Linked DNA regions of Homo sapiens: region 2 is linked to region 1. Evidence: promoter capture Hi-C in 16 types of primary human blood cells and fetal thymus (Javierre and others, 2016). All regions are on one chromosome and are shown on one strand. Each heading gives the region's core, a stretch centred on a gene start or on the middle of the fragment in contact. The rest is flanking DNA. Distances are from core to core; before and after follow the strand shown. Region 1 holds the start of NUDT6 (nudix hydrolase 6). Region 2 overlaps MAD2L1-DT (MAD2L1 divergent transcript).

Evidence for each region. Contacts are between HindIII fragments. The CHiCAGO score rates a contact against its expected background, and 5 or more counts as called.
Region 2: a fragment that was not itself captured here is called in contact with the fragment with the promoter of NUDT6 in region 1 in 2 of 17 cell types (total CD4 T cells and non-activated CD4 T cells); the score reaches 7.1 in total CD4 T cells.

Annotation. Positions count from the first base shown.
Region 1 is chr4:122,921,235-122,923,934 of GRCh38, forward strand. It overlaps NUDT6 (nudix hydrolase 6), which reads right to left and starts at 1,363. Exons shown (of 5, transcript NM_007083.5): 1 at 1,101-1,363. The coding sequence starts at 1,338. AFG2A (AAA ATPase AFG2A) reads left to right here and starts at 1,844. Exons shown (of 16, transcript NM_145207.3): 1 at 1,844-2,071. The coding sequence starts at 1,909. RefSeq lists enhancers at 1,507-2,043, 1,836-2,205. The HindIII fragment of the contact is 3,202 bases long and covers 1-2,700 here.
Region 2 is chr4:120,075,615-120,078,314 of GRCh38, forward strand. All of the region lies in intron 1 of MAD2L1-DT (MAD2L1 divergent transcript), which reads left to right. Among named protein-coding and RNA genes, the nearest start is that of MAD2L1-DT, 10 kb to the left of the region's middle. The HindIII fragment of the contact is 1,023 bases long and covers 845-1,867 here.

The sequences.
Region 1 (2,700 bases), core at 113-2,612:
ACCCAATTTGTATACAAATGTGACACTCTGAACCTCTCTGGTTTAGTATTTGATAGCCCAACAGGGTGACTATATTCAATAAAGATTCAGGCTGGGTGCAGTGGCTCCTGCCTGTAATCCCAGCACTTTGAGGGGCCAAGGCGGGAGAATCAGTTGAGCCCGGGAGACTGAGACCAGCCTGGGCAACACAGTGAGACACCGTTTCTAGAAAAAATAGAAAAAAGCCAGATGCGCGCCTGTAGTCCTAGCTACCCAGGAGGCTGAGGTGGGAGGATTGCTTGAGCTCAGGGGTTGGAGGCTGCAGTGAACCCTGATCCTACCACTGCACTCTAGCCTGGGAGACAGAATGATACCCTCTCTCAAAAAAAAAAAAAAAAAAAAAAACAAACTGTACATTTAAAAATAACTAAGAGTAACTGGATTATGGTTGAATGCTTGTGGTGATGAGTATCTCATTTACCCTGATGTAATTATTACACATTTATACCTCTATCAAAATAGCTCATATACCCCATAAACATACACACCTACTATGGACCCACAAAAATTAAAAATAAAAAAGAAAAGCCTCTTTGGTCCACTCAGTCCACCACCCGTATTAGAATGTAAGAGTTTTTTTCCTTGGGAAAAGTGTCCGACAGAACCAAGGCTCGGTAAAGGATACTAATAATGTAATAATATAATATTAACAAACATCTACTGAGCTTTAAATACGTGGCAGGCACTGTGCTGTGCACTTTATGTGCATTATCCAAATTAACTCTCAGTAATTCCAGGAGTTCTTATCACCGGGGTCTGTGGAAGAGGAAATGGTGGTTTACGGCAATTTCCGAATGTCGCACAGTAGAAAGTGGACCAGCAACCAGGGTTGCAGATCCCAAAGTCCGGGATCTTCACCATTTCACCCAACCGCCTTAGAGACCTCCCAGCAAAAGGTCTAAGCACGAATGCTCCAGAAAACAGGTCCAGGTCACGCGTGCCTTCTCCCTTTCCCTCTGGGCTCGACAGTGGTGCACAGAGCGACTAGGGAGTGGGGGCCGCGGTTATTTCATTAGAAAAGCTCTGGAGCCCCGGGAGCCCTTCGTCCCAGGCGCACTTGCCCTGCAAGCCCTTCTGGAAGGCGGCAGCGTCCAGGCGGTCCAGCGCATCGAGCCGCGCCAGGCGCACCGAGATGCCCCCGAATCTGTCCAGCTCGCCCTGCAGATCGCACGCTCCAACTGGCGGATTCCGCACGTAACCCTGTGCGCCCGAGGCCCAGCGGTAACCCGCCGAAGGCCCGGGGCCGTAGGTTCGGGCAAGCATCGCGCGCCAGCGGCCCCAGCTCAGTGGCTGCCGCATCTCCACGCCGCTTAATTCGTCCGTTGCCCAAATGACCCCTCCGCGCTCCAGAGCGGAGATCGCGGCCGTACATTTTAGAAGAGTGCCATCAATACCCTCAGAGTTGAGCTGGGGTTACCACTCTGCAGAGCTATGCCAAGGAGACCGCGAAGTGGTCCACCAGCCCTTCTCAGCAATTTGCCCCGCTCCAGTTAAGCGGGGAAAACCTCCTCCCCCACCGCCACTCACTTATTTTGTTTGGTAGTTTAATTCAACAGACGTTGGTTTAGGGATGGGGAAGCCGGGAGGAGATGCAAAAACGTCCTGTTTTTCAGGAATTTACAATCTAAGTGGCAGTTCCGTTCCTGGAACCTATCTTCTTTCACAGATGCCGTTACAGCTGTTTCAAAGACTGCTGGTTTTGAAAACGCTCAGTCCCTCCCACCACGCTGTGCACTGCTGCGCTCCACTCAGGGGATTACGGCGCAGGGGCGGACCCTCGCTGACTTCTGCCCCGGAAGTTTTTCTCTCAGTTGAAGCGCGCACATTGAGTCGGCTTTTCTACTGCTTCGGCTAGGGTACCTTGTGACCATGTCTTCCAAGAAGAATAGAAAGCGGTTGAACCAAAGCGCGGAAAATGGTTCGTCCTTGCCCTCTGCTGCTTCCTCTTGTGCGGAGGCACGGGCTCCTTCTGCTGGATCAGACTTCGCGGCAACCTCCGGGACTCTGACGGTGACCAACTTATTAGAAAAGGGTAAAGAATTCCGGGTGGGAGACTAGAGGCCGAGGGGGCGCAACCTGAGGGGCGGGAGACTCAGTGATACTGACTTGGGGTGCAGAGACTTTTGAAAGTTGGGCGTGGCATGGGTCTGAGAGCGGCACAGAAGCGTGTAAGACTTCTGTATGTAAGAAGCATGCAAACGTAGCCGCGCCTGCACTGGAGAAGTTAGGCTGAAATGGTTTATCCGTGTCCAAGGTTTCTCTTTTGTAAATTATTTTGAATTTTTAAGTTGCACTTGAAACGCTTTGTCTCATTTAACATTAACGACACATTTAATTGCAAAATTGTTCATAACTAGCGAACATGGGATACTTATCCTAAAAAACTAAATAACCAATTCAGTAAAAATGTGGATCACTCTGCCTTTAGGAGTGATGATAGCATTTTCTTCCAGTACTACGCAGGTTATGATATTTAATAACTGCTAGTAACTGCACACTAGTGTTAGCAGTATATATAGCTCATCTAATTTCTACAGAAGCCGTGACCGATGGGTATAGTAATGACAGTTTTATAGAGGGAGGAAAGTTAACGTGATTCCATTCAGGCTACACAGGTGCTAAGTGGCAGAGCCGATATTTGAGTCCAGATGTGTTTGACTT
Region 2 (2,700 bases), core at 106-2,605, 2.8 Mb before region 1:
ATCCTGGCTAACACAGTGAAACCCTGTAAAAAAAAAAAAAATACAAAAAATTAGCCGGGTGTGGTGGCGGGCACCTGTAGTCCCAGCTACTCAGGAGGCTGAGGCAGGAGAATGGCATGAACCCGGGAGCTGGAGCTTGCAGTGAGCTGAGATCGTGCCACTGCATTCCAACCTGGGTGACAGAGCGAGACTCCATCTCAAAAAAAAAAAAAAGTTTATTCAAACGTGCTCCTTCCATAACATGAGTGTCTTTTGAAAAACGGAATGGAAGAATGTTAATTTTTCTGAAGTTCTTGTTAGCACAGTACTGCAAAGAGAAAGAGCCAGTAAATCTGGCACAGCTGACTTGCATTTCCTCAGGGTACCAATCATGGCCTATGACTCCCTTTTTTTTCTAAATTTTTAAAACTGACAAATAATAATTGTACATATTTACAGGGTGCATAGTGATGTTGTGGTCTATACAATGTATAGTGATCAGATCAGGGTAATCAGCCTATCTATCATCTTAAACATTTATAATTTCTTTGTGTTTCAAACATTCAATATCCCCATTCTAGCTATTTTAAACTATTATTAACTTGTAGGATGTAGTCATCCTACAAGTGCTGTAGAACACTAGAACTTACTCTTATCTAGCTGTAATTTTGTTTCCTTTAACAAATCTCTCTGTCCTCTCTTTCCGCCTACCCTTCCCAGCCTCTAGTATTCTCTGTTGTACTTTTTACTTCTGTGGGATCAACTTTTTTAACTTCCACATATGAGTAAGAACGTGACCTTCTGACATGGAGACTGTGTGAGTGTGCAATGTCAGTCCATTTTTTGAAATCCATTTTTTTAGTAAAGCTTATTTTCCTAGGTTAAAACATAAATTAAATAGAAGTTGTAACATTCCTTCCTATACTCCCAAAAGGATTGTTTTTTGCATATATTCCACTTTGGAAGCCACTGATTTTGAGGATGTTTGCAGAAACCTTATTGATTAGGGGATGAGGCACCTGAGTTGGGAATAGTAGTGTTCCGTGCTTGTCCTCTCTTCTAGGTAAATATGGAATAGACCTAGTTAGGATGGCTGACCTGCATGCCTATGTGGAAATTTGAAGTATCATTCTTTTTTTTTTTTTTTTTTTTCTGAGACAGAGTCTTGCTCTTTCACCCAGGCTGGAGCGTGGTGGCACCATCTCAGCTCACTGCAATCATCGCCTCTCAGGTTCAAGTGATCCTTATTCCTCAGCCTCCTGTGTAGCTGGGATTACATGCATGCACCATCACACCCAGCTAATTGTTGTATTTTTTAGTGGAGACAAGGTTTCGATGGTCTTGCACTCCTGGCCTCAAGTGATTCACCCACCTTGACCTCCCAAAGTGCTGGGATTACAAGTGTGAGCCGCCATGCCCGGCGTGAGCTATCATTCTTTATAATGGACTTTGCAGAACAATCCTGTAAGGAAAATACATTCTTATTGGGAAGGAGTGCTCCAGACTCTTGAACCCCATCTATTTACCACTGCCCAAAGCACAGAATAAAAGCCATCTTAGGGGTTTCAACAAATCCTGTCATAAAAGTCCACTTAGATCACATAAAAAAAAAAAACTTTATTACTGGTTGCATAATGAGGGAGTGTCATGGTCTTGTCTAAAAGAAGCAGGAATCTCCAAGCAATCTACCAACAGCAGAGATCACATGCAGATATGTCAAAAAAAGATGTTAGCCTAGCATGTTCCAGAGAAACTTCTTAGAAGCAGACTATCTGGACAATTTAAGAAGAATTATATAGGAGTTATTTTCCTTATCGGTAAAATGGATGTAACAATAGTACTTGTCACATATAATTTTTCTGAGTATTACATGAGATAATTTAAATGAAGCTTTGGCTTAATGCTAATATGTTATTGTTATTGTTTTATTATTATATTGTTACTGTTGTTGTTAATAAGACAGCTTTTCACCACTTTTCCACGCACCTTTCCTGGGTTGGTACATGTTTAGTTTAGCATAACTAAAGGAGGCTTTAGATAATACAACTTAAGGCACAGATGAGATAGAAACTCTTATAACATATATAATAATGATAGCCAACATTATTAACCACATACTATCTGCCAGGCACATTTCTATGTGCTTTACAAGAATCATTTTATTTAATCCCTCATTAGCTCAAGAGTTAGATACTACTATTACCTGAATTAAGTTACAGAAGGAAGTTGAATAATTTAGCTAAGGTCACCCAGCTAGGAGAACTGGAGTCAAATCCAAGCAATCTAGATGGTACCAGAATATGAATCCTGAAAGCATCAAAGATCTGACTATATTTTAGATAACTCTAATTTGAGGCAAACTATAGTGGGTCCTTAATATTCCTCCATCCTTGCTATGTAACTCCTGAGACCCATTCAGCAATGGAAACCAATGGAGCTGAATGGCTGGAAAGTCACAGAATTGGAACAAGGAAAATAATCCAAAAGTGGAAGAAAAGAGTCCAAAACTGGAGGAAAAGAAACAAGAGGTAGGATCCAGGGTGCAATACTGGCTCATCTGGCTAAGAGTGGATGGCCAAAAGGGGTACCCTGACTAGGGCTGCAAAAACAGGAATTTTTTAAAAATTTTGTGCTTAAAAGATCTTGTCAATTTTCTACTTAAAAGATCTTCAGTGAACTAAGAGGAGGCATTAAACAAATATTCTGGCCAAGGGATAGAAT